Linked DNA regions of Homo sapiens: regions 2, 3, 4, 5, 6 and 7 are each linked to region 1. The links are contacts of gene promoters, found by promoter capture Hi-C in blood cells and fetal thymus (Javierre and others, 2016). All regions are on one chromosome and are shown on one strand. The core of a region is centred on a gene start or on the middle of the fragment in contact, and the rest is flanking DNA. Distances in the headings are between cores, read along the strand shown. Region 1 holds the start of UFL1-AS1 (UFL1 antisense RNA 1). Region 2 overlaps KLHL32 (kelch like family member 32). Region 3 overlaps MANEA-DT (MANEA divergent transcript). Region 4 overlaps KLHL32 (kelch like family member 32). Region 5 overlaps KLHL32 (kelch like family member 32). Region 6 overlaps MANEA (mannosidase endo-alpha). Region 7 has its middle 29 kb from the start of MANEA-DT.

Region 1 (3,906 bases), core at 1,122-3,621:
CAGAATTTATCTACTGTGATCAAAGAGATATTGACAACTAAATTAAGATGAACTTTTTTTCAATTATTTGATACTAAAAGGTAGGCTTCTACATATCAGCATAAGAAAATCTGTTAAGTAATTCAAATTATAGCTCATATTTTAAAGGTACTATGAAGGAAAATAGATAAATAAAAAAAGACAAAGACCAATGTTACACTCTGATAATATGAAGAGAGGCTTTCATAATTGCTTCTATTTTAATCAAATAGTATTCAAATATGCTTGGTAGTCTGTTCAAATTTTAAGAAGACAAAGGAAACCAACTTTGTGCGTGTTTTTAACAGCATTTCATACAATATGATTGGTGTAGCACCACACTGGATTGAGTTACCTAATTTGTAAGTACAAGTAAGCCTTAAAAAGAAATACAGCCTTGATTTTCAAAAATCTATAATCCTGTAAGATACTGTCCCCCTTCACAATTACCACCTAATAAAAGGCAGCTGAATACCCTTCCCTGAGTCATGCAATAAATTAATGAATTGTAAAAAGAAACAATTAATTCATGTATAGTACACATAACTCAAAATGATAAAATATTTTAAGTGACAACATTTGAGTTCATTTAAATTATATGACCATGTTTGCATGAACCCAGTAAAAATATTAAGCCTGATTATCAAATTAACAATTGAAAACGATATCTTACAATCTATAATTTAGTATGCAATTACATGTTTACGGGTTTTGTTTGTTTGTTTTGCCCCTTCCAAAAATCCAAGAAAAAAAAAAACACTAAAGAATTACCTACCACCTCGGACATGTAGCTCATCTCTCATTTCTTTACTAATTTGGGCTGGAGTAATATATTCCTTTCCATCGAGTGTATGAACTACTTCTAGCTGTTTCTGAGCAATCAATTTATTAACAATCTCAATGCAGTTCCGCTCGGACAACCTGAGGGAAAGAAAAAAAGTTGTTTCAAAAGTCCACTTGAGACATTGGCGCTCAATAAAATTAATACAATGTATGAAAACAGGCTTTTAAAAAGTTTGTTTAGTCACTAACTTCTACATCACAATATCTGTATTTTTCACTAACTGATTCAATAAGTTAAAAAAAAACCTTTCAGAGTAAGTAGGTTTACATATGCTTAAATCATTTATTTAATTGGTACACATCATCCCATCACAAATTTCAAGTCTGTTGTCTCTTACAGGCCTGCTTCCAATCTTCAAATCTGAAGGGAAAATTGAAGACATTTATTTAGGTAGGAAAAAAGAAAAAACAAAACAAAACAAAACAAAAAATGCCCTAATTTCCAGTTTAATCAGAATTTTCTTTTAAATTAAGTGCATAATTGCCTCACTTACACACATGGTCTGCAAGCAGGCAGGGGATGTGGCCTAGTGAAACCATAACTTTTACCCACGTTAGTTACCCATGCAGTTACGAGTTTGCTATCAGTGGTAGAAAATACAGCATAAGGGGATTGCTGTCTTCCGGCTCAAAAGGAATAAAACATCGCAGGTAGGAAGTAGTCAAAGAATAGAAAGGCTTCTATTAGCGTTATTTTTAAAAAGCAGAGTTAGGCTCCTCTGGACACATCCTCCAAAGGTTAGTGGGCTTGTAGAAAATGTCAGTGCCCTGAATAACAGATGGGGTCAGGGGTCTAGCCCTAGGTCTGTTACGAGAGATAAAAGGGCAAGAAGTTTTAAGGATCAACATACTATTTGCCAAGTACTGTACTGGGGGCGGGGGTTAGCCTCTCCTTTCGAGCTCATTCTAGATCAGGAAGTGTATAATAGCCAAGATGTCACAGTGATTTGGTGGTTGGTGGGTGAGGGAGGGTCAAAGAAATGCTCAATAAAGGCAGCTCGAAATCACCGGCCCCGTCCATGGTGGGGCGGGGCGCGCCAGCATTTCGCTGCAGCTGGGCTGGGGGGCTCCAGGGCGTCCTAGGCTGAGGACTTTCCCGCCGAGCCTTGGACTTGGAACTGCGATCCAGGCTCGGGACAGAGGGAGGAGGAGAGAATGGTGACAAGCAGCGAGAAGACCCGGGATGCAGGGCCGCGGGTCTAAAGTCCCAGATACAGGCGTGTCCGCCCACGGCCTAATTTGGGCTCCACAAAGGAGAGGGAGGGTCGGGCACCTCTGCGTGGCCTCGGCGAACTGCGCCCGCTGGAAGTCGGCCGCCAACCGCCTAATCTCTTCCCAGGCGTCCGCCATCACGGCCTGACTCGCAGTAGACGCGGAGGAACTGCAGACACGTCAGCCGACAGGCGGTGGGAGAAGAGAGGCGGAACGGGCCGCGCAGAGGGACAAGAGGCTCCGCCCCCGACGCAGACACACCAAACGCTTGCGCCCGAGGCGCGGGGGGCGGGCGGAAGTGCCGTGGTTGTACCGCGGCGCTGGGGGTTCCTCCCGGCGAGACTGGCGGGGCTGCGGCGGCTAGGAGAGTGGTGCGTAGGTGTTTCTGGGGGGGTCGTGGGCAGGATGCAGGGCTCAGTAAAGTTTAGTGTCAGAACTTTGTTTGCGCTACCCCTAATATTTCCGTAGAGTAATAGTTGTATTAACTACTTTTCTTTTTTCTTCTGTCCTCCATTTGTTTTGGGGGAGGGTGCGGAGGAATAAGCCTGTGTCTAAGATTGGCGCCTCTCTTCTCTAGCTGTTAACTCTGAGCATTCCCTTTTGTATAGGGTATCGTGTTAATTTTTACATGCACCCAGAGCAGTCTGCCTTTTGGAAGATACATGGGAGACCCTACCGAAAGTAATTACTTTTTTTTTACAGAGTGAATAAATTTGCGTGTCATAAAGGCTGTATAATTGCTTTCGTGTCTAGAGTTCTAGAGTCTTTCGTATTTCTCTTATTGCAATGATTAACTTCATCAAATAATGAGGAATATAAACATAAGGTGCATGGCTATCAAGGAAACAGGGAAAGCAAAGAGAACATGTATCCTGCTTCCCTGTTGAGTAGATATTTACTCAGGTGTACCTTTCTTTTTTATATCTTTTTTATATCTTATGAATTGAAAATAAATCATGGGACCCCCAAATCACTAAGCTAAAGGGAAAAGTCATACTGGGAACTGCTTAGGGAATCCTGCCTCCCATTCTATTCAAAGTCACCCCTCTGCTCACTGAGATAAATGCATGTCTGATTGCCTCATTTGGAGAGGCTCATAAGAGAATGCAACTGTCTGTTATCTACCTATGACTTGGAACTTCCTCCCCACTTGGAGTTGCCCCGCTTTTCCAGATCAGACCAATGTTTATCTTACATATATTGATTGCTGCCCCATGTCTCCCTAAAATGTGTAAAACCAAGCTGTGCCCCAGCCACCTTGGGCGCATGTTGTCAGGATCTGTGCCATGTCATGGATGCAAGTTCTTAACTTTGGCTAAATAAACTTTCTGAGTTGATTGTGACCTGTCTCAGATATTTGGAGTTCATGTATCTCACTCTTTACTATTTAAAAAATATTATTCCAGTTAGAAAGAATGAATAATATCAAGTATTTGATAGCACAGCAGGGTGACTAGTTGTCAGAGGCGTTTGAACTAGAGCAACTCCATCTTGAATAGGGGCTGGGTAAAATAAGGCTGAAACCTACTGGGCTGCATTCCCAGGAGGTTAGTCACAGAGTGAGATAGAAGGTCCACAGGCAGGAAAAACAAGTCATAAAGACCTTGCCGATAAAACAGGTTGCAGTAGTGAAGCCAACCAAAACCCACCAGAAACCAAGATGATGAATACAGTGACCTCTGGTCGTCTTCACTGCTCATTATATGCTAATTATAATTCATTATCATGTTAAAAGACACCCCCACCAGTGCCATGACAGTGTACAGATGCCATGGCAACGTCTGGAAGTTACCTTATATGGGTCTAAAATGGGGAGGAACTCTCAGCCCTGGG
Region 2 (3,915 bases), core at 307-2,806, 520 kb before region 1:
ATACTGCTATTTAGCTTTAAGAAGCAGATAAATCCTGTCATTTGCAATGACATGGATGAACTTTGAGGACATTATGTTAAGTGAAATAAGCAAGGCACAGAAAGACAAATACTTCATGATCTCACTTATATGCTGAATCTAAAAAAGTTGAACTCATAGAAGTAGCAAGTAGAATGATGGTTACCAAAGGCTAGGGGAGGGTGTTTTCTTAGTCCATTTGGAGTTGTTATAAAGGAATACCTGACATTGGGTAACTTATATAAGAAAGAGGTTTATTTGGCTTATGGTTCTGCAGGCTAAACAAGAAACATAGCTCCAGCATCTGCTTCTGGTGAGGGTTTCAGGCTGTTTCCACTCATGGCAGAGGAGAAGCGGAGCTGGCATGTGCCAAGATCACATAGTAAGAGAGGAAGCACGAGAGTGGGAAGGAGGTGCCAGCCTCTTTTTAATAAATAGCTTTTTCAGGAATTAACAGTGAGAACTCACTCACACCCTGAGGGAGAGCATCAGCCTTTTCACGAAGAATCAATCAACATGACCCCAACATCCACCTACAGACCCGACCTCCAACACTGGGGATCAAATTTCAACATGAGATTTGGAGAGGACAAACATCCAAACTGTAGCAGGGGTGGATGGACTAATGGGAGATGTTGATCAAAGGGTATATAGTTTCAGTTAGACAGCAGGAATAAGCTGTAGTGATCTACTTCACAGAATGGTAACTATAATAAATAATAATGCATTGTATAGTTCAACATTGCTAGAAGAGTGCATTTTAAATGTTTTCACCACAAAAAAAATAGGTAGGTAGGTGAGGTGATAAATTTGTTAATTAGCCTGATTTAATCATTCCACATTGTAAACATATATCAGAACATCACATTTACATCACATAAGTATATACAATTATTATTTGCTAATTAAGAATAAAATTAAACAAAAATAAAATTCAGTAGAAAAATGAGCTCCCACACATTCTTCAAGACACAAATACCACCCTATCTGTAAAATTGTGTACTGATAGCCACACCTGACCACATGCATCCTTCTCCCACTCTGTTTTGTATTCTGCTTCTGTTATAACTCCAATACCAGTGAGGATTTTAATCATGTATTTGCCTGTCTTTCTCTTACTAGGATGTGAGCATCTCAAGAGAAGACACTTTCATTTTAGCATAGAAGATACTAAATCCACGTTGGATGAAATGTTGTTAAAGAACAACAATTTATAAAAGGGGAGCTAAACATCCAGTCTGTATTTGAATTGATTTATTTGAGTAGTTCTCAAATGTAAATGGATATCCTCTGATGTCCTATAAATCCTATAACAACTTTGGTCATTAATGTATTAGGATTTCAAACCATCACAATCTACTAATCTAAATGCCTTCAATTCTGACTCTGAGATATGTGGAGGACATGGTACCAAGACGTTGGACATAAATTTTTGGGGATCTAAATTTTTTGTCTTGTTTTTAAGGCAATAAAGCCATGATTGAGTCACCGAGCTTCAGTGATAACAATGAGAATCCATTATCTTGCAAACTCTTTCCCTTACGATAGTTCTTTAAGATATTCAAAAAATTACACCAGCAAGCACTGAGTTAAATTTAAAATACTATGTTCACTGGATCATATTAAAAAATCAAATTGCTTTACTTACCTTTCCATAACTTTAGTCATAAAATTAAGAGGATGTGAATCTTATTTTTAACATCAAAATGAGTAACAAGAACAATAACTAAATCTCATACCTCAAGGATAATCTCCTTTGGTTAGATGTAGTTGAAATGTTAAACTTTACAGATCACATTTAATACCATACCTGTCCTGTGTATGCAAACTCCAGAGCCTGCTTTAAGCCAAGGCTGGTCACACCGTGCAAATTAACCTCATCAGCTCCACTTTCCACCATACAAAGACTGAACATTGCCTGAGGTGAGGAAAGGGAGAAAGACAGTTATGAGACTTTGACAGCAAGGGAGCAAGACAAAATTCTAGAGAGACTAGGGGAAAAAAAAGTTTTACAAATTAATAATTGATTTTGATTTTTGAAATGCTTCTAGAAAGTGTCATTCACACAAACCACTGCAAATCATTTTGATGTCTGAACAGTTGCAATAACAACACACACAGGATGGCATTCCTCACCATATACAGTACTTCTATATGTAATACACAGTCTCATTTTGAGGTGATAGTATTTAGGCCCACCGAACGCTTTCTCTTGGTCCTGGATTCTCATTGCTACCAAGTTATATGCAGCAATGCCAAACATCCTGCCCAATAGGACATGAAAAGCCTTCATCTTCTGACTTCTCTGCTTTTTTCTGCCTCAGTCCAATGAAACAGCTAGTTCCTCTCATCTGCCATTGTATTAGTTCATTTTCATATGCTATAAAGAACTGCCTGAGACTAGGTGACTTATAAAGGAAAGAGGTTTAATTGACTCACAGTTCAGAATGACTGGGGAGGCCTCAGGAAACTTACAATAATGGTGGAAGGCGAAGGCGAAGGTGAAGGCGAAGCAAGGCACCTTTTTCACAAGGCAGCAGAAAGGAGAAGTGCCGAGGGAAGGGGAAGAGCCCTTTATAAAACCATCAGATCTTGTGAGAACTCACTCACTATCATGAGAACAGCATGGGGGAAATCGCCCCCATGATCCAATTACCCTCCATCTGGTCTCTCCCTTGACATGTGGGGATTATAGGGACTATGGGGATTACAATTTAAGATGAGATTCGGGTGGGGATACAAAGCCATGTATCACACACTCCGTTTCAGTTGTTCTCAAAGTGTAGCCCTTGGACCAGCGACATCAGGATCACCTGGGAACGTGTCTGAGTACAGACTCTCAGGGCCCCAATGCAGATTTACTGAAACTGATACTCCAAGCAGGGCCCAGCAATCTGTGCTGTAATAGGCCCTCCAGGTGACTCTCATGCCCACTTGAATTTGAGAACCACTCAGCTATTCAGTGCAAGTGAATTTGCCCCCAACCAATTCTCCAAATGGCCAATTTACTGCAAATCAGTATGTCAAATGAAAATTTGAAATTAAAAAGACAAAAACTTGACAAATTAAAACAAATGCATTTTAAAAGGAAAAAAAAAATACAACCCCATGCTAATTTGTGCACCTTTAATCTTTGACTTAAGAAATATAAAGAGAATTCAATTTTGTTTACTGATAATGAGAGAAGTTTTGTGGGAACTGTTCCCTGAGATTCTGCAGTTTAGCTAACTTTATAGTCATAAAAAACAAAACCAAAAAAACCTCACTATGCTATGTGGTATTTAGTTCATGCTGAATTTTTTTAATTTGAAAAATGTGATTTTTTTTTTACTTTTGCCAATGTATCAATATTCATCTTTTAGCAATTTTATTTATTTATTTAAATTTTATCAATGCCTAAGGAATGTACATATTTCAGGGGTACATATGATAATTTAATATAGTCTTAATTTTTAATTGCCAAATCAGTGTATTTGAGATATCTATCACCTTAAAATATCTTTTCTTTATGCTTAAAACATTCAAATTATTCTCTTCGAGCGATTTTCTTTTCTTTCTTTGTTTTTTGTTTGTTTGTTTGTTTGTTTTTTGAGATGGAGTCTTACTCTGTCACCCAGGCTGGAGTGCAGTGGCACAATCTCAGCTCACTGCAACCTTTGCCTCCCAGGTTCAAGTGATTCTCCTACCTCAGCTTCCCGAGTAGCTGGGACTATAGGTGCCCGCCACCACTCCTGGCTAATTTTTGTATTTTTAGTAGAGATGGGGTTTCACCATATTGGCCAGGCTGGTCTTGAACTCCTGACCTTGTGATCCGCCTGCCTCAGCCTCCCAAAGTGCTGGGATTACAGGCGTGAACCACTGCGCCCGGCTGTCTTCTAGCTATTTTCAAGTGTACAA
Region 3 (3,934 bases), core at 1,111-3,610, 960 kb after region 1:
TTTAAAAAAATAAACTATTAAAAATAAATAGGCCTCCAACAGAAATGAGGGGGAGGGCAAAAAGAGAAAAGGAACAAATAATATCAGGAATGGAAAAGGAGTAATAAAAGTACTGTAAGCTTTTAAAAAGTCATCAGAGAATGCTAAGAATAAATGCCAGAACATTTGAAAACTTAGATGTTAATTTTTTAAAAATGTATAAATGATGAAAGCACACTCAAGAATAGGAAAACTGGCCATGCACGGTGGCTCACACCTCCCAGCACTTTGGGAGGCCTAGGCGGGTGAATCACGAGGTCAGGAGTTAGAGACCAGCCTGGCCAAGATGGTGAAACCCCATCTCTACTAAAAATAGAAAAAATTAGCTGGGCATGGTGGCGGGCACCTGTTAATCCCAGCTACCTGGGATGCTGAGGCAGGAGAATCACTTGAACTGGGGAGGCGGAGGTTGCAGTGAGCCGAGATGGCACCACTGCACTCCAGCCTGGGTGATAGTGCAAGACTCCGTCTCAAAAAAAAAAAAAAAAAAAAAAAAAGGGGGAACCTGAACAGACCAATAAAAATATATAAATTAAAGAATGGGTCATTAATCAAACATGTACTCACACTAACCAAAATAGTCATCATAATAGTATCAGCTGCAGAGGCAATAGTGTGAATGATAATATCAAGAACCCATTAGGCATACAAAGTTTTACAAGAGGTAACTAAAAAATATTCAGGGAAACAAAATAACTTTGTATCTCAGGCAAATAGGGCTAAATTTTACCTGAGTGGTGGGTATATGCATTTTATAGTTTTAGCAAATTAAAAATATTTTGTAGTTTAAAAACTAAAGGAAGATCTAGGAGGAATTTGGGAACACTTGATAAGCAAGAATAATTTTAAGTATATTCTCCATGAAAGACTTTTCTAAGACTTGATTGGAGACTTAGCTTATCTCAGTGCATATTAGCTATTAGGTGTTCATAAATTATCCCAAGACACCTTTCTGTTTTCATTTAGGTCGCTTAGAAACTAGTACTCTCAGAACATGGAGTGGAAGAGGTGATCATGGTAGCAACAGACTGAGGAGTGAATTTGAACTTGAGGTAAGTGTAGGTAACTTTATCTACCGTGGTGCAGGAAGTGTCCATTTGAACGTGTAGAGTTAGCTGCCTAGTCAGTTGAGTTTAAGCACAAATCTTTGAGACCTAGGAGTATGGACCTTTTTATTAAAAATTGTCCTTAAATATTTTCTGAATTAGTAACTTTTATATTGCCAATTCATCTTAGTAAGAAAATCTACTAGGGCAAGAGGACAGTCTTATAAAATCCTGTGTAGATCTCTAATGTCTCATTAGAATACATGGGAGAGTCATAAAAAGAAGAAATAAAGGTACTCAATATCTATAAAAGTAGTTTTGAGTCCTGAAAGGACAAAGGCCATGGCATTAAGATGACTGATAATATCCAGTTGTAGCCAGGATGTGGAATATGTATACTCTCACATTTTATTGGTGGGAATACTAATTGGTAGAACCTTCTTGAAGGGAAATTTGGCTGCACTACTCTTTGAGTGAGCTATTCTATATTTAGCTATTTTTCCTACAAAATTATACCCATAATGAGAAAAAACTGCACACAGTGATCTCTCTTTGTAAATGACATGAAAAGATGTCCATATATAGTTTTTAAGAAGAATGAATTTGCAAAATTATGTAGATAGCTATGTAAAGATATATCTGTATCAATTTTATATGGTTGGCATAATAAATTACCACAAGTTAAGTGGCTTAAGCAATGCAAATTTATTATCTCACAGTTCTGTAGGTCAGAAGTCAGACATGGGTCTCTCTATGCTAAAATCAAGGTGTCATCAGGGTTGCCTTGCTTACTGGAGGTTCTTGGGGAGATTGTTTCCTTGCTTGTTCAATTATTTTTTTTGGCAGATTTCAGTTGTATAACTGAGGTATATGTTTTCTTGCTGGCTATATATTGAAGGCAGTTTCCAGTTCCTAGGGGCCTCCATGTTATCTGGCTCATGGCTCTATGCCTCCATTGTCAAAGCCAGCAATGTCAGATCCAATTCTTCTCATATCACATTTATCCGACCCACTCATCTGCTTTCCTCTTTCACATTTAAGGATATCAGATTATATTGTGTCCAACTGAATAATCCAGGATAACCAACCCATCTCAAAATCTTTAACCTCAACCACATGTGCAAAGCTCCCTTGTCATGTAAAGTAACATAGTCACAGGTTTTGGGCAATAGGATGTGTACATATTTGGGGGCCCATTATTCCACCTACCCCAGTATCTGTAAGTACGTTTAATATAAATTATATTATGTAAATATATAGGCATATACAAATATGTATACATACAGGAATGAGGAGAGAGAGAGAGAGAACATCAACAACAAAAAACAAATGTATATGTGTCTAAATTTTTAGAAATAAACATACCAAACACTTTAACAGTGTTTTTCATAGAAAGTGGGTTTCAGTTTTTATATATACTTTTAAGAATGGTTTGTATTTGTACGACAAGCACACATTAATATTGCACTTTAAAAGGTAAAAAAAAAATTAATTGATCAATTAGGCTCAAGCACTTGATCAAATTCAGTTGCTATATTTCCTAGTATAAACACCTAGGGAAAGAAACAATCTCTAAGTAAAATATGTGTTCCATGAATTATTCATCAAAATAAATGGCAGACTTCACTGTAGGTGTTATGCTCTAAATTGAAGAAATTAACCTTTAAAGTATTGATTGGCTGAATTGCTGCATGTCTAAATAGAGTGGCAATTCTCAGTACATAATAATCATAACAGTACTACTACTAACTCCTGCAATCATAGTAAAAATATAAAAATAGTTTCTTTTATATTTTATCACTCTCAAAACATTTTCAATTACATTACTCTTATAAATTCTGAAAACAATCTTTAATATTAAGTAGGCAGCATAGAAAATTATCACATTTTGGAAGGAAAAATATTCAGAGGACCTAGATAAGACTTGCTCAAGGTCCAATAGGCCAAAATTGTGCAGAACCAAAATATGTACTTAGATTATCTGTTTTAGGATATATGTACAATATAAAAATATAAGACTTCTTCCCTCATGAAGTTAACAGTCTATGAAGGGGGATAAGACATGCATGTAGATGGCTTCACTCAAAGCAAAAAGTCATGAGTGTTATTTAAAAGGGTTCCAATGAAGTGTTGTAAGAGTTCAGAGAAAAGTTATTTGGAGGGGGCGGTTACTCACACAAGTACTATTTATACTGGGTATTAAATAATAACTAATTATGGAATATTTTCTATAAACAAGAATGGAGTAGTAGTGTGAAAGTATCAAAGCAGGATTGAACAAGAGTGGCTCTTTTGGAGGTAATGGCAAGGAGAAGCCAGAGAGAACCAAGAGTTATTGTGCAATTAGAATGAGCAGCAGAAGACAAATGAGAGAAAAGAATCAAAGGTGACTCTATATTGTTCATTCTAGATATATAGGCTAATGGAGTTGCTGGCAAGGCATGGGAAACATTTTCTCACCTTCTCTGACTTCTCAAACCTACTGTACAATTGTTACTGCCCCCAGCACTCCTCAGGAATTGCTTTTCACAAAGTCTCCAGTGATTTCCTTGCACTAAATATATTTTCAGTCTATACCATACTTGATATCTTGGCTATATTCAGCTCTATACTCAGCTCCATCCATCTTGAACATTTTCTCCCTCTAGTTTCCTTGACCTCACATTCTCCAATTTGACATTAGGCATCCATGTAAAGCGCTTACTGCACTCAATCCTCTGTGCACACCCACATGTTCTAAACATATTATATTGGGTCCTAATATTATTTCTCTTACTTTTCTTAAACTCCACAATTCCCCTGTAGACTTCTCTTTCTTGGTCTAGATCTTAAATAGACTCTCTTCTGTC
Region 4 (3,494 bases), core at 384-2,883, 560 kb before region 1:
CAATCACATTTCTCCATCTTATTTGTTTTAGAGCTTGTCACCACCTATAATTATCTTCAGCATTTATTTGCCTACTTGTTTATAATGTGCTTGTCTCCTCCCCTGATCCCCCAGTAAGCTCCATGGGAGGAAGGAGCTGCTGGTTTGTTCACCACTGTATCCCCAGAGCCTAGAACAATGCCAGGTACGTTCAAGCCACACTTGCTGAATGAAGAAACCATATCATCTTTTCAACTTCCCTGGGTCAGGTCAAATTGACCACCTCTTCCTGTGTACTTCTACTCTGCCCTCTGCAAATATGTCTAGCACATCACTTGTCACTGCAAGCACCCTTTAACTGCAGATCTATCTCCCTCTACCAAATCTAAGCTTCTCGGAAGCAAAGATTGTGTCTCATGCCTTGTGTGTCCCTGGTATCCAGTAGGGAGCAGATGCTTAATACATGTGTGTTTAATGAAAGAATACCCATGAGCTTTTTCTGTTTACTTATAATTAGGCAAAAACAGAATAGCCCATGTCTTTCCAATATGCCTATCCAATTCTGAACCTTGTCCAAATCAGGCCATTTTTCATATCTCACAGGCCTTCCTGATTGTCCCTTTCTCTTTCTGGCCTTCTGACACGTACACACAAAGGCAAAGCCAGTGGTCATCCTGTTTTCTGCGTGGGAAAATTGGTAATAATGACTAGAGTTGAAAGTGTTACTGAACAAGTATAATATAATCATTCTTCTGTGACAAAAAAATCAATCCACCCCAAATTTCTTTTACAGTCCAACAGAGAATTATTTCCTCTATCAATTGGCTACTTAGATCAAAAGATTTTAATATCTTTTCAAATGATACTTTTTCCTAATTACGAGATTGTCTCAGCTCTCCTGCATTCTGTGACTTAAAAATGTAAGTATCCAGGTAGCGGTAGTGGTTTTGAATGGAAATTACAGCTCAGCAACAAGAAACTCTCTTGAGTAAAAGAAAATCTTACTCTTTTTTTTTTCTAAAAAGGTTTCATTTCTGTCACACTGCTTCTCACTTGAAATTTAGTTTCTATTCAGAATTATGGTGCATACATTGTTGTTCTTTAGGGAATATTTTTAAATAGTATTTATTTTCCTTTGGTTTAGGGCTATTTGGCTTCTCTTATTCCTTCTATTTGTTTCTCATAGTGTGAATGACAAGTTAAATAAGAGAAGAGGAGCCATAAAATGTGTCCTCAATACCACACTAGCTATGGAATAAACACCAGTTTTTCAAGTTCAATAATTTTTAAACTTTATATATTCCCCAAACTCAGTCTTTCTGTGTGGCCTCTTTCCCTAATTGGTTCCTTCAATGGTTATTCCCCAGATTAACTACCAAATACGGTAGGGGTAAAAATATGGGAAAGGCAAATATTGTTTTATTTTGGTTTATATTCAAGTGTAGTTACATTTGCAAGGCAATTATCGAGCAGTTAGGACATGAATGGGAGGAAGGAGGGCAGTTTGAGGACAGTGTTGATCCTGTGGCCTTTCAGCCCACCCTTCCCAAGCCAGTGAAGGCAGCAAGAGAAGGAGGAGTCTTGGCCTCGGTGATGTCCCCTGGTGGGTCTCATCTGCAGCAGAGTGGCCATGGCCTTTGCGGTGTCTCTCAATATCTCAATTATGCAGGAACTACTAATAAATGACCAAAGTTCATACAAGAAGTACTTTGTTTATAATTTAGAGTAGATTTAAGCCTATGAAATAATGCCACCCAGACTCACTTGTATTCTACTATACCTTCTTGAATGAGAGAAAAACATGCAGCCTTATGCCTAGAGTCTGCATATTTACCACACATAACCCACAGCCTAGCTTAGGGATGTCACGCTCAAGAGCTGTGTCTTGTGTGCCAATGATGATACAAGCTGAGAATCATCTGAATTTCTGAAACATAGTCTTAGTTTTGGCTACCGCCGTGGCTCCCTGGCTTGTCAATAACCCCTTGCCCATCCACACTGCAGTTTAATCATGCCTCTGACACAGAAATTATACACATTATGCATAATTATATGATATCTGTTTGTGGGGTAGATAATGGAGTTAGTCTACAGTGGATGCAGTCATCTTAAAAATAGGTGTTTTGACATTCTTAAAACTAGATGAGGCACCCTTCAAAACAAAGCCTTAAAAACACCTATTTCTCTTGCTGTCTCATCTAGTTCTGAGAATGCCACTGACGTGTGAAAGAAAAATAAGCATCATGTACTATCACTATAGAAAACTATGACTTGGGTTAAAGATAATAAACTCCTCTCAAGGTTAAAACAAGAGTAATTTCATTTTGATTTCCCAAGTTTTCCCCCTCTAAGATGTCCAAATTGAATAGGATTACAGATTTTTCCGGGTAATAACACTCAACAGATGTGGCTATTTTAACAATGCTTTGTTTCATCAATGTAATTATAATCTTTCATTTCCAATTATTGATGCACTTCACTTAGACAACTCTCCTTCGAAATGTCACCTAAATTACCCCATGTCGATACTTTACTATAGATAAAGATAGGCAGGAGACATAGTGGTTCTATGCCCATGATGTAGTAGCATACATGAAGTTCTTATATAAAATGTTGATTTTATATCACAATTTGAAAATTTCTCTAAATGAAAGGCCATCCTTGGCTCTGTAAGTCAAGAAATTCTCTTTTTAAAACCACTCCCAAATCTATTCCAAACAGCCTGAGAAACCACTCTACATAAAAATCAGTATGGTTTGATTTTTAACAATGTTAAGTCAAAGTGAAATTTAAAAATTGTATCAGCTGCTTATAAGGACCAAGTAGCAAGTAGGATACGGTAAGTATAAGGCTCTTTATCACTGAATGAATTCTAATGCCTCCCACTTCAAGTTTCCTATCACATACACATAAGCTTGTCACTAAGCTATTCATGCATGTAGCTTATCTTCAAACTATTAAAAATGTACCTAGTAAACTAGTAAAAAGTAGATTTCGCATCGTATGCTTTTTGTATTCTGCACAATGTCAATCATAATGTCTTTCTCATAGATTGCAACAGAGAAGTATTTGTTGGATCAAGAATGAAAAAAAAGCAAACAGTTGTGAGGCACATCTATGACTTTACATGAAAAGAGGAAATAATAGCTTGGTTATAGATACAACTTAACAGTTGGGCAAAATAAACAGCTCTCCCACAATTAACTGAGAAAAGTGTTCTTAAGTACTTAATCTGAGCTTCAGAAAGTCCCTTGCGATGCTATCTAGGTACTGGGTTTTTCATACAATTGGGAAATAAAATGGAATGCCCTCTTGTGGTGCCAGATACATGAGGCCTGACTTCCACAGTGAATCTTGGGTCTCCTTGTTTTCTATATGTTAGATTTTTCCCCCTTTCCCCAGAATGTTGAAAAAGAAGCTTACTTCTCTTGGTTTTTAGTGATGATCAGAAAAAGATAAATGTGCAAACTGTTTGCCAAAAAAAAAAATCAGACATTATCAAATGAATTCACATT
Region 5 (3,844 bases), core at 818-3,317, 540 kb before region 1:
TACTGAATCAGTAAGTTTCAGGGTGAGGCAACTAGTGTTTTTAACAAGTGTCCTGAGTGGCTCTGATGCACAGGGAGGCACTAGTCAATTCACCCCTCCACTCTACTACTTCAGCACGCTCCTTTCTCAAGCCTCCAACTCCTTCTCTGCCACTGGATTTTCACTTCATGATCTTTGAAAACCTCTTACCACCAAATCTACCAACCTATCTACCTACATCTGTATCAGTACCTTTTGCTCTCCCCAACAGTCCACTTGTGTGCTTGATCCCAACCCCTTCTGCCTGCAATTCTCCCCTCTTGTTCCTGCATCACTATAGGTTCTCTTTCTACTGGATGGTAGGTTTGAAAACCTCAGGGTCATTCTTGACTCTTGTTTTCCTTAGGCCTTATATCGAATCCATCAGCCAGTCCTGCTGGTTCTATCTTCAAAATAGTTTCGGAATTCAATCACTGCTCATGACTTCGATAATCACTGCTTTAGTCCAGTCCATTCCTCTTCCTAAACTTAACTGTAATCACCTCCTAGCTAGTTGCACTGCTTTCTCCTTTGTCCACTCACACTATCTGTTTTAATAATATCAACCAGACTGGTTCTTTAAAACCACAAATGAAATCATGTCACTGTTTTTATTCAGAACTTTCTGAAGACTTTCCATCTCCATGAAAATAAAATCCAAAAAGTCTCCACTATAACCTAAAAAGTTATTGAATATGCTGAGCACCTTGGTGTTTACAACTAGTTGTTTGCTCTGCCTGGGCCACTCCCTCATATACTTCAGATAACGTCTTACCTGAGATACCTTCCCTGACCATCCTATGTAGAACAGTAACCCACCCCTGAACAGCCATCATTCCCTAGCTCCTAACTTTGTTTTATTCTTCACCATAGTGCTTACCACCTCACATTATATATCTTTTTGCCTATTTGCTAATTTTTCTCTGCTCAGTATAAGTTTCAGGAGAGCAGGGACTTAGTCTATTTTGTATCCCCAGCACTTAGAACAATGTTCAGCACACATAGCTGTTGCTCAATATTCATGAAGTTACTTAATTAAAATGCTAATGAATTAATTGATCTCTACACATGTTTTTTATTCAGAATCAATTTTAACTAATTTTATAAGAAAGAAAAAAGGACTCTATATTTCTAAGTGGCAAAGTAAAGAAGTGAAAAAGTTAAGCACATGTGGCAAAAATACCAACACTCATCTTATTCTGAAAAATCTTTATATCTCCTTTTCCATCTAGTCAGAAAGAGAAACCCGTCTTTCGCCAACTCCTCAAGGAAGGAGGCTTTGACTGACATTCACGAAATTAGTGCAGCTCCCATCAGAGGAGCAAGGATGTTGTATAGTCTTGCAGAAGAGGCATGGCCTAAGGAGGAGAATGGGGAATAGATGGATTAGAAAGGTTGGTTTAGCCTTTAAATCCTGTCAGTTGCGCTCATTTCACACAACTGGTATTTATGATAACCTCCAAGGCTCACTAATAGCAAACACAAAGACAGTGATCACAGAGAGACAAGATGAATATTCCATAGCATGTGTTACATGTCCAGCAGGCTGACTTCCAGAAGCCTGCACATGAAAAACCCATACGGCGATTGTTTTTGTCTTTTTTTATTTTTTGTTTTGTAGTTTTTTCCTTCCACTCATTATAACATAAGTTTTTCTAAAATATGCTTTAGCACAGAAAATCTCTAAGTGCTCTTAAAGGGTTGGAGAAAGAAACCCTACCAGGACAGCTGTTCTCACTTATGGAAACAGAACCAGTGTTTGCAAACCTCACTGTACCAGAGGCTTTTGATTCAGCTTTGTTGCTCTTTGGTGACTGACTGTTCGAATATATTTTTCCAGGGAATTTGTGTTTGGCCAGCAATGAAATCAAAGGTCAAGTCTCCTCATGATTTACAGTGTGGTGAATTTATCTGTCACCTGCCTCGAAGGACTGGCCAAAAGAACAACCTCTGCAGAAAAAAAGGGATCTCAAACACACAGGTTTATGGAGAACAACTAAGACAGCTGCATTTAACTTCTGCCAAGCATTATATTTAGGTATTTCAGAAACATACCCATCAACATGTAGTCTGACACTCAAACCAGGACAGATAGGAAGAAGGGTGACTCAAGGACCACCTGCAGGAAGGAAGAGATGTTCCCCAAGATCTGAAAGCACACAGGGTGGGAATAGGAGCTAATGTGAGTGGCCTGACACATCCAGTCACTCATCAGTCTGGAGGAGCATATCACAGCTAGAGGCATAAACAGTGGACAAGACAAAATGTCTTAATAACAAGAGATCAAGAAAATGCTAGATACATAAAGCCAAGTGGTCCAGAATCCAGGGGCGGGATGGGGCGGGCTGGGGGAAGTGGGGGGAAAGGAAACCCTAAAAGAAGCCAAACTAGGTTGGGCATTGCCTCTACCCCCAGTGACGCTCACCTGCTTGGGTGGAGCTCACCTGTAGAGCTGGGGCTTCTCCAGATTTGCAAACAGGTTTTGATGCAACCAGGAGCAAACTTAGGTGGGGGCATGAATGTTTCTTGTTCACAGAACCACCTGTATAGAGGATTCTTTCCCCGCCTGACCTCCAGGTGGTGGAACACAAGGGGCTGTTCTCGAATGAGGGATGTTGGACAGTGCTAGCAGAGAGGTCACCTCTAGTCTCACCTCACCAAGTAATGAGATGATCACATCTCATTACTTGGGTCTGGCCCAGGAACATCTCCTGCAATTTGTAGCAGGCAAGGTCATATGAATAAGGAGAGGGCCACGACTGATTCCCATTCCAAATGCTGAAACTCTACACTCATTTTGGTGGGGATAAGAACCGACCAGTGGCTGTATTTAGGGTGACACAGAATGGTGTGACAAAGTAATAGTGTAAAACCCACAAGTGCAGGAGAAGGGGATGGGTACCTGGTAGGAGAAATTATGTCAGAATTCAGTCATGAGGTGGCCCAATCACCCTCCTGGTAGGAGGCACTCTTGAATACTGTGTGCCAACATGTCCTCTGGTCACCAATCCAAGCAGGGTTGGTAGCAGACAGGAGAATTTGCATGATCTCCAATGAAGACCCTCTAAACTGCAATAAGACTGGGACTCCTGGTCTCCAGGCAGAATATGGGGCCAGAATCCGGTGAAAGAGGAGGAGAATGGGACCTGAGGTGAGATTCTGTATAGAGCATGATGACGTGGGCCACCTCAGTCAGTGCCCACACCTCACATGGGGGCTCTGGGAGGGTGGAGCTGGGACTGAGCGGTGGGAGTAGGGACACCCCACAGTCCCCAGGGCATCCCTGCCCCTCCTTCTTCAGCTCATCCTCCTGGATCATCAGATGTCCACTCTCTCAATTCTGTCTTCTTTTTCTCTTTATTTTCCCTCTCCCTTATACCTAGCCTCTTGGATTGGTGGCTGGTAGGGACTGTCTTTAACAGCCATGGTAAGTCTCAGTGTGACCTTTTTTTTTCTCCTGCCTGTGATCAAGTGAGTTGGCATCTTCAGAAAATTTTGTATCTTCAGATCTTCAAAGCTATCTTCTTCATTTCTTGCATAAGGAGATTTTTTAATTACCTGCTTCTTGGTCTATGTGTACAGTGGACTGAAGGATTTGAGCATGTTAAAATCAGACAACTAAGGTCTTTAGTAAACACACATACCATGTGTGCACATGAACAACACGCTTTTGCAAGCAAAACAAGCGCTTGTACAACTGCAAATTAGAGTGGTCTAATACCATTTATGAGAATAAATGATTACATTTCCTCCCTTCTTTATAGTTTGTTTCTTTGGTATTTTTTTTTTCCTGTATAGTATTACAGAATGGCAAATTATCAGAATC
Region 6 (3,592 bases), core at 914-3,413, 930 kb after region 1:
GTGAGCCACCACACCCAGCCAGTCTTTTCCATCTTTATACTATCATCTCCATTCCACCATTTCTTTACTCTCTTCCTCAAGCTTGATTACATTCTAGTCCTATGCTCTCCAAAATAATACCCATATCTACCATATAAATTAAAATTTAAAAGAATTAAGTTTTCTTGCACACTCAACTAGCTACGTTTCAAGTGTTCAATAGCCACATATGACTATGTATCTACTGTTTTAGGCAGCACAGATAGAGAATATTTTCATCATCACAGAAAATTCTACTGGATAGCGCTGCCATATTATTCTGATTCTCCTAATAAATTAACCATCCCATTCTTGGTCTAGTAATTTCTCTTCCTCTTTTATCCTCTTTGCAAGTATACTCTATGGCTTTGGAGGAATGTTCTTTCTTCTCCCTTACAATGTTGTTATATTTCAGCTTCTTTATTGCATCAATTATGACTTCCAGATATCTAATTCTATCCCTATACTGTGATCCACAGCCCAATTAATCATTATACAGTGTCTTCTGGACTGTGGCACTGAATAAATACTAGCCTGGGAACCACGCCAGTGATTGTCGTACTTCTGAGGAGTGTTGGGAATTTACAATGGCAGTGAATCCTTGATAGTAACCAGAGAAGTGTCTATAAAATAAGCCAACTGAGTATCACTTATAAGTAAAATCTATTACTCTGTATTTCTGTCATCCTAATTGCTTAGCAAACTCTAGGATGCTCTTTGAAGTCCATTCTTGAAATATTAGCAAACTAAATGCAAAAACTCATGTCATGTTGCTCATGTCACCCCTCCATGCCACTTATTACAGGACCTTCAATATAATTGATAGTCAATTTTTTTTGTTGTTAGTAAAGTGATGCATTCAAATAGGATAACAGTTAAGAATATAGGGTATAAAAATCAGATAGGCCTAGAGAATCGAGTTCTTATTCTGTTATTTGATAGATGAGTATCTTTAGGTAAGTTATTTTACTTAAGTTTCCACATCTGTAAAATGTAGGATAAGGCCTGTTTTAAAAAGCACAAATGAGAGAATGCATCATGCAGAGTAAAACACCTAAAAAGTGATTATAAATAACACTTAATAACAAGAAGACAGTATAATGATGGATAAATTTGGATACCTTGAGCCCCAGAAAACTTGTTATGTGTTCATAGGAAATTTAGAGCTTCTTTTGAACATCTCAAACATTCTTTCAAACTAAAGCTTTAAGAGAAAAAAAGGCAAGCTCATTTCTAGACGTAACACAATTTTCACTATCTTACCCAGGGTGACATACTTTTAACAAAATTTTACAAGGTACAGAAAAAAAAGCAAGAAAAACAATTCACTGACAAGAAACAAAGCAATCAATAGAAACAGACTCACAAATGAGATACGTTGGAATCATCAGAGAGAGAATATAAAATTACTGTAATGAATATCTTAAAGGATCTAATGGACAAAGTAGCTAACACACAAGATCTGGCAAATTTCAGCAGAGATATGGGAACTATAAGAACAAATAAAACAGAAATGCCAGGAATGAAAGACTACTTAAAAAGATGAATTAATGCCTTTAATAGGCTCATTAACAGAGCTGAGGAGATAATCAGGAAACTTCAAGGCAAGTCAAAAGAAATTACCTTATCCAAATTACCATAATGAGAAAAAAGACTGGGGAAAACAATAGAACAATGCATTTAACAGTTGCGAGATAAATATCAAAGTTCTAGTACACATGTAATTGGAAACCCAGAAGTAGGAGGTTTATTTGAAAAAATAATCAGGCTGGACACGGTGGCTGACGCCTGTAATCCTAGCACTTTGGGAGGCCCAGGCAGGTGGATAACGAGCTCAGGAGATCGAGACCATACTGGACAACATGGTGAAACCTTGTCTCTACTAAAAGTACAAAAATTAGCTACGCGTGGTGGAGCACATCTGTAGTCCCAGCTACTTGGGAGGGTGAGGCAGGAGAATTGCTTGAACCCAGGAGGCAGAGGTTGCAGTGACAGTGAGCTGAGATCAGGCCACTGCACTCCAGCCTGGGCGACAGGGTGGGACTCCATCTCATAAAACAATAACAATAATCACTAAGAATTTAGCAAAATTAATAAAAGACACAAAGCAACAGATTAAAAATTCAGAGAACACCAAGAAGGATAAATAACAAAAAATAACAGGAGTAACAAGTAACCATACCATGTTTAGACTGCTAAAAAACAAAATAGAAAAAAGAAAAAAAGAAAAAAATTAAATGCAGCCAGAAAACAACAACAGCAACAACAAAACATATCCATCCAAGAAAATGAGGATATAAAAAGATTTTTTTAAATTACGGCAGACTACTCATCAGAAACCATGAAAGACTGAAGAAAAAGAAGAAAAAAAGAAATGGAATACATTTTCAAAATTCCAAAAGAAAACAATCCCCTAAAACCTGCCCATTGAGAATTCCATAGGTGATGAAACATCTTTCAAAATAAAGGCTACAAACAAAATTTGAAAATATTCATTGCAAGGAGACCAGTAAAACAAGATAAAAGAAATTTTTAAGAGAGAAAGAATATGATATTAGACATACACTTGGATCTACATTAAAATATGGATGGGGAACAGTAGAAATGGAATAAATGTAAAAAACATTCTTACTTTTAATCACTGTGAAAAACAACTGATTATTGAAAAGAGTGATCAGCAAACTATGACCCATCGGCCAAATCTTGCCTTTTACAGGCCAATTCATCTATATATTTGTCTATCTATTGCTTATAACCATTTTCACACTATAAGGATAGAGCTGAGTGGTTGCAAAGAGAGAGAGTGAGGGACTCACAAAATCAAAAATATATATTAGGCAGTCCTTTACAGAAAATGCTTGCCAACCTCTGGCCTACAGCAATGATAGTAAAATACCATTTCTTATGTGACAGAATTACGACAATAGCAAACTATGGGAGGGAAACATAGGGAATATCAGTGGTGAAGACCTTACATTACACATTAAGTATATATTATTTGCAAGTAGACTGTCTCCTTGCAATGAATACTTTCAAATTTTTTTTGTAGCCAAAGGTTGGGCATCTATAGCAATATGAAAGCTTTATGGAATATCACCACTCTACAGTTATAAATATAACCTTTAAACTTAATGCAAATAGTTATTATAAAAGGAAATTTTATGACATCATATTAGATGTTATTAGGTACATTTAAACTTTATGTGTCTAATTCATCTCATTGTGACTTCTACTTTTATGTATAAATTTTTAAAGGCAGGAGATGCAGAAGTAAGAATTGTAACCTTACTAAAACAAATATGTCATACTTTCAGGAAATATTCTAATGTTGAAATCCATCCAGTGTTTTTAAAGCAACAATGATGAAAACAAAGGAACTGGGAAATGTGACTTGCTCATTTTTATGTCCCTAGAATCTAGCACAAGCTTGGAACGTCATGGAAAATCAATAAATATTTAGTGCTAAACTGAAACAATGGGAAGATAATTTTAAAGTCATAGAGTACATTATGTTTTGCTAAATGTAGCAGTTCTCTATTTTGCCATAACAAACTATCACAAATTTAGTTGCTTA
Region 7 (3,739 bases), core at 837-3,336, 970 kb after region 1:
ATTGAAGTGACAGATATAATAACAAGAACTCTCTCCATGAGGAAAAAATTACTGAAAGATGTACATATATACAGCTAAGAGATTAATTCACATAAAAGACTAAAGAATGCTCAGTGTTAGACATTATAAATGGTGAAATCAAATAAATTGAACTAAATATTCTAAATAGGTTTTGAAACAAAATACAAAGGAAATTCATAAGATAGAATATATAACATGTGAAAATGACCATAATAATCTACATCTCAAATTTCTGATTATAAAAACCTCGTTTCACCCAACTGAGAGGTGAATGAGAGCTAAAGGAAGCAAAGTAAAATAATACTAATATTCAGAATTCTATCAGGTGGTATCAAAGCATTATTTGGTTTGCGAAATTGATCATTGGAATTTATTTTTAACTTTTATGTATCTGTAAAATTTTAAAATAAGATATATATTATATGAAGCGTTAGCAATAAAGGTGAGAACATTGTATTCCATAAGGATCCAGATAAGAAAAAGACAGTAAAGAAGCGTTTTTTAAGTTAAAATTGAAAGGGCAAATGAACAAAGTTTTCAGATATAACAACTTAAAAGTTTTGAATTTGAATGGGTTAAACTGTTCTATTAAAGATCAGTCCAATTATATGTGGTTTCCAAGGGACGTACCTAAGGGAATATGACCTAGAGAGGTAAAAAAAAGGAAGAAAAGAAAAATAGAAAAAGAGACTGGCATAGATACATCATCTAAAGGCAAACAAAAGAAAGATCATAACATTAAAATCAGCTGTATCAGATTTTGAGGCAAAGAAGTCATCATAAATTATAAAAGACTTCAGTTTTATGTTTAAAAATGATATATCCACAATGAAGATATTAGAATCATAAACCTTTATATGAAAAATAACATAGCTACAAAATACTTAAAGTAAAAGCTGTGCTATACAATTTTACAAAATGAAGTTAGAAAAGAAAAAAATTTAGCTTTGAAGAAACATCTCCCAGGTTTTGAATACTCATGTAAGAAAAAAGTAAAAAAGTAAAGGCTATATACTATTCTAATTTATAGATTTTTAAAATAAAGAGATCAAGTATATTCCAAATAAACAGAATATACACTTTATTTTAAAAGCCAATGGATCTTTTGTAAAAACTGGTCATCTAATAGGCCAGAAAAATGTTAAATCAGTTACAAAAAGAAAAGCTGAAGTTGTACACGCCATGTTATTAGATCACAATACAAAATAGCCATTAATAGCTAAAGTTAAAAAGTAATTATTTGGAAATAAACAATGCATGACTCATTAACACAGATCAAAGGGGATTACAGATTCTTTACAAAGCAATACAAATGACAATACTTCATTAAATATTTGGTAGAAGCTTTATGCGCATAAACTATCTGACTCAAAATCAGAGAGGTGGAATGTATTAGCAATAGGTAGATAGTGAATAAGACAATGACAGTGCATCTATAATGTTTATAACAAATACCATGTGTGGATATACTTTTTATCATGGAGATTAAACAGATTTTTAAAAAATGAAAATTTGCATTAATATAGTAAATATAGCACCCACTCGACCACCAAATCTCGTGCAGAGAGTTTTTAAATGCTTTCAATACAAAAAGAAGAAATAAAAGACATACGTACAAATAAAACCCCAACAGAAATAAATTAATCATTCAAACAACCTAGTCAGTTTAAAATGTAGGTTTCATTATTATTCAGGTATTGTGACGCCAAAAATCAGGAGACACTGGCCATTGTATAGACAGTTTGTTCCCAAGAGGAAGGGGTATGCCATGCCACACAAGGCCATGCTGGGAAGCACCAGATTCAGTCAGGAGGCAGAAGGATTTGAGGGGTGATGGAGAGCGTGAGCAAGAGCCTTTATTTTGGTTTCTGCAGCAAGGTAAACAGGTTTAGAATTGGCTTGTTTAAATAATCCCAGCAGACTCTGGGGTATAGGAACTGTCCCTAGTTGTCTAGTATTTGACTCTGGAGTGATTAGGGCAGCGCATAGTGGCCCTGAGTGTGACAGCCTCCTAGAGGAGGTTGTGGGGTGTGAAAGCTCTGCATTGTTGGTTTGCATATGAATCTCACAGTCCTGGGCCAGTCATTTACTATGTAGGATATGGCTACATAGGAGCCAGGAGATGGCTAGTCCTGGAAGGGGTAGGCTTTCCAGGATCAGCAAAACCCTGAGATGTCAAAGCATCAGAATTGCAGGAAATGGAAAGGCATGACTTCATACACTGTTGAACCCAGCAGGTGGTTGAAAGCAGGGTTCCCCCTGCGTCAGGGACCCATCTGGCTGTGTTTCTTTATCTCCCTTCCATAATCATGACAGATGCTGTGACACACTGATACATTCCTAGTTAGGAATAAAGAACTTATTACCAGAGCTGCTGTAAGTGCTGTCAGTAGACAAGTCTCAGCTGAAGAGTTTCCTAGTCCGCATCACTCTTCCTTCCTAGGTGGGCCTCCATCCAATGATTAATCTGTGTAGGACAGGGTTTCTCAATTTAACATTTTGAACAGGATAATTTCTTGTGGTGAGGGCCAATCATGTGCATTGTAGGATGTTTAGCAAATTCCCTGCCCCACCCCCCAGACTAGATACTATTAGCACCCACCCCAGTTATGACAAACAAAATGTCTTCAAACACTGCCAAATGTCTCCTAGGGGGCAAAATCACCTATGGCTCATAATTAATGATGTAATTGATTACATATATTACATTAATAATTACATATATTCAATGACATGTAAATACTTTCAGATTTATATTCCAGCCCAGATCTCTTACCTAAGCTTCAGCCTCTGTATAGCTCACTCCCTATTGCCCATGACATTTTATCAAAAGACTTTACATATTTTATGCTTAAGAATATGAATTTTAGAAGTGGCTGCTTAAGTAAACATCTCATTTACTAGCTTTGTAACATTGAGGTTCTACTAAGCTTTTGTTTCCCTCAGTTTTCTTTCCTCATCTATAAAATGGACACAATAATAGGATCTGCCTCATAGGTTTGTTGTGAGAATCAAATTAATGCATGTAAATACTTCAGAACAATTCCTGGCATATTGCTAGTTTTCAATAATGCTAGCTATTACTATTAGTCAAGTGGTGTCTTGCAGGTACGAAATGCAGTGTGTTCAAGTCCATCTAAATTCCTGATCTGCCAACCCTGGTCATTTTTCTGTATTTAGTATTTCACTAAATGACACCACCAATCACTTACTCAAGCCAGGTGCTTAATCAATGTTACTATTGATTTTTCCATCTCCTTCAGCAACTGCCTCAATCACAAAATCATATTGAATCTGTATTCTTAGAACTGGTTGAATTTGTCAATTGTCTTCATCTCAATTGTCACTATTTTCATTAAAACGTGCTTCTTATTACAAGAACTATTGAAGAAATTGAGAACATGGACTCTGGAGTCACAGAGACTTCAGAATTAGGTTTAAAGTCCAATTCTACCAGCATCATGATATTAAGTAAATGACATTTTCTCTCTTTATCCATTACTCTATTTGTTTAAAACAAACAAACAAAAACAAAACAAAACAAAAGTGATAATGCTTGCATTAAAGAAATGCAAAGAATATTATAAGGAGCACTCTTTGTGTTACCCTAACTTGAAATAAAACAAATAACCATTAATAAGAGACTGAATTAAATAAATTGTGACATTTTTATATAATAGAATACTGCATAGTAATGAAAAGCAAATGGCCACTGCAC

What was found. The method cuts DNA at HindIII sites, captures the fragments that hold promoters and counts their contacts. A CHiCAGO score of 5 or more calls a contact.
Region 2: a fragment that was not itself captured here is called in contact with the fragment with the promoter of UFL1-AS1 in region 1 in 2 of 17 cell types (total B cells and naive B cells); the score reaches 6.0 in total B cells.
Region 3: a fragment that was not itself captured here is called in contact with the fragment with the promoter of UFL1-AS1 in region 1 in 1 of 17 cell types (naive CD8 T cells); the score reaches 5.2 in naive CD8 T cells.
Region 4: a contact is called between a fragment that was not itself captured here and the fragment with the promoter of UFL1-AS1 in region 1, in 1 of 17 cell types (activated CD4 T cells). The highest score is 5.1, in activated CD4 T cells.
Region 5: a contact is called between a fragment that was not itself captured here and the fragment with the promoter of UFL1-AS1 in region 1, in 12 of 17 cell types (total B cells, activated CD4 T cells, M0 macrophages and 9 more). The highest score is 12.7, in total B cells.
Region 6: a contact is called between a fragment that was not itself captured here and the fragment with the promoter of UFL1-AS1 in region 1, in 7 of 17 cell types (total B cells, non-activated CD4 T cells, total CD4 T cells and 4 more). The highest score is 9.1, in total B cells.
Region 7: a contact is called between a fragment that was not itself captured here and the fragment with the promoter of UFL1-AS1 in region 1, in 1 of 17 cell types (activated CD4 T cells). The highest score is 5.9, in activated CD4 T cells.

Annotation. Positions count from the first base shown.
Region 1 is chr6:96,520,179-96,524,084 of GRCh38, reverse strand. UFL1-AS1 (UFL1 antisense RNA 1) reads left to right here and starts at 2,371. Exons shown (of 4, transcript XR_007059687.1): 1 at 2,371-3,906. UFL1 (UFM1 specific ligase 1) reads right to left here and starts at 2,279. Exons shown (of 19, transcript NM_015323.5): 1 at 2,135-2,279; 2 at 794-939. The coding sequence starts at 2,211. RefSeq lists enhancers at 947-1,818, 2,485-2,674, 1,819-2,690, 2,691-3,562, 3,563-3,906. The HindIII fragment of the contact is 5,811 bases long and covers 1-3,906 here.
Region 2 is chr6:97,039,513-97,043,427 of GRCh38, reverse strand. KLHL32 (kelch like family member 32) reads right to left here. Exons shown (of 11, transcript NM_052904.4): 4 at 1,829-1,936. Among named protein-coding and RNA genes, the nearest start is that of KLHL32, 120 kb to the right of the region's middle. The HindIII fragment of the contact is 7,360 bases long and covers 1-3,915 here.
Region 3 is chr6:95,564,385-95,568,318 of GRCh38, reverse strand. It overlaps MANEA-DT (MANEA divergent transcript), which reads left to right. Exons shown (of 3, transcript NR_104136.1): 2 at 1,006-1,091. Among named protein-coding and RNA genes, the nearest start is that of MANEA-DT, 11 kb to the left of the region's middle. The HindIII fragment of the contact is 4,478 bases long and covers 122-3,934 here.
Region 4 is chr6:97,077,367-97,080,860 of GRCh38, reverse strand. The region is part of intron 5 of KLHL32 (kelch like family member 32); the gene reads right to left. Among named protein-coding and RNA genes, the nearest start is that of KLHL32, 150 kb to the right of the region's middle. The HindIII fragment of the contact is 2,524 bases long and covers 372-2,895 here.
Region 5 is chr6:97,059,865-97,063,708 of GRCh38, reverse strand. All of the region lies in intron 4 of KLHL32 (kelch like family member 32), which reads right to left. Among named protein-coding and RNA genes, the nearest start is that of KLHL32, 140 kb to the right of the region's middle. The HindIII fragment of the contact is 4,952 bases long and covers 1-3,844 here.
Region 6 is chr6:95,590,194-95,593,785 of GRCh38, reverse strand. The region is part of intron 2 of MANEA (mannosidase endo-alpha); the gene reads right to left. Among named protein-coding and RNA genes, the nearest start is that of MANEA, 14 kb to the right of the region's middle. The HindIII fragment of the contact is 1,877 bases long and covers 1,225-3,101 here.
Region 7 is chr6:95,546,947-95,550,685 of GRCh38, reverse strand. No RefSeq gene overlaps it. Among named protein-coding and RNA genes, the nearest start is that of MANEA-DT, 29 kb to the left of the region's middle. RefSeq lists an enhancer at 1,050-1,666. The HindIII fragment of the contact is 1,437 bases long and covers 1,368-2,804 here.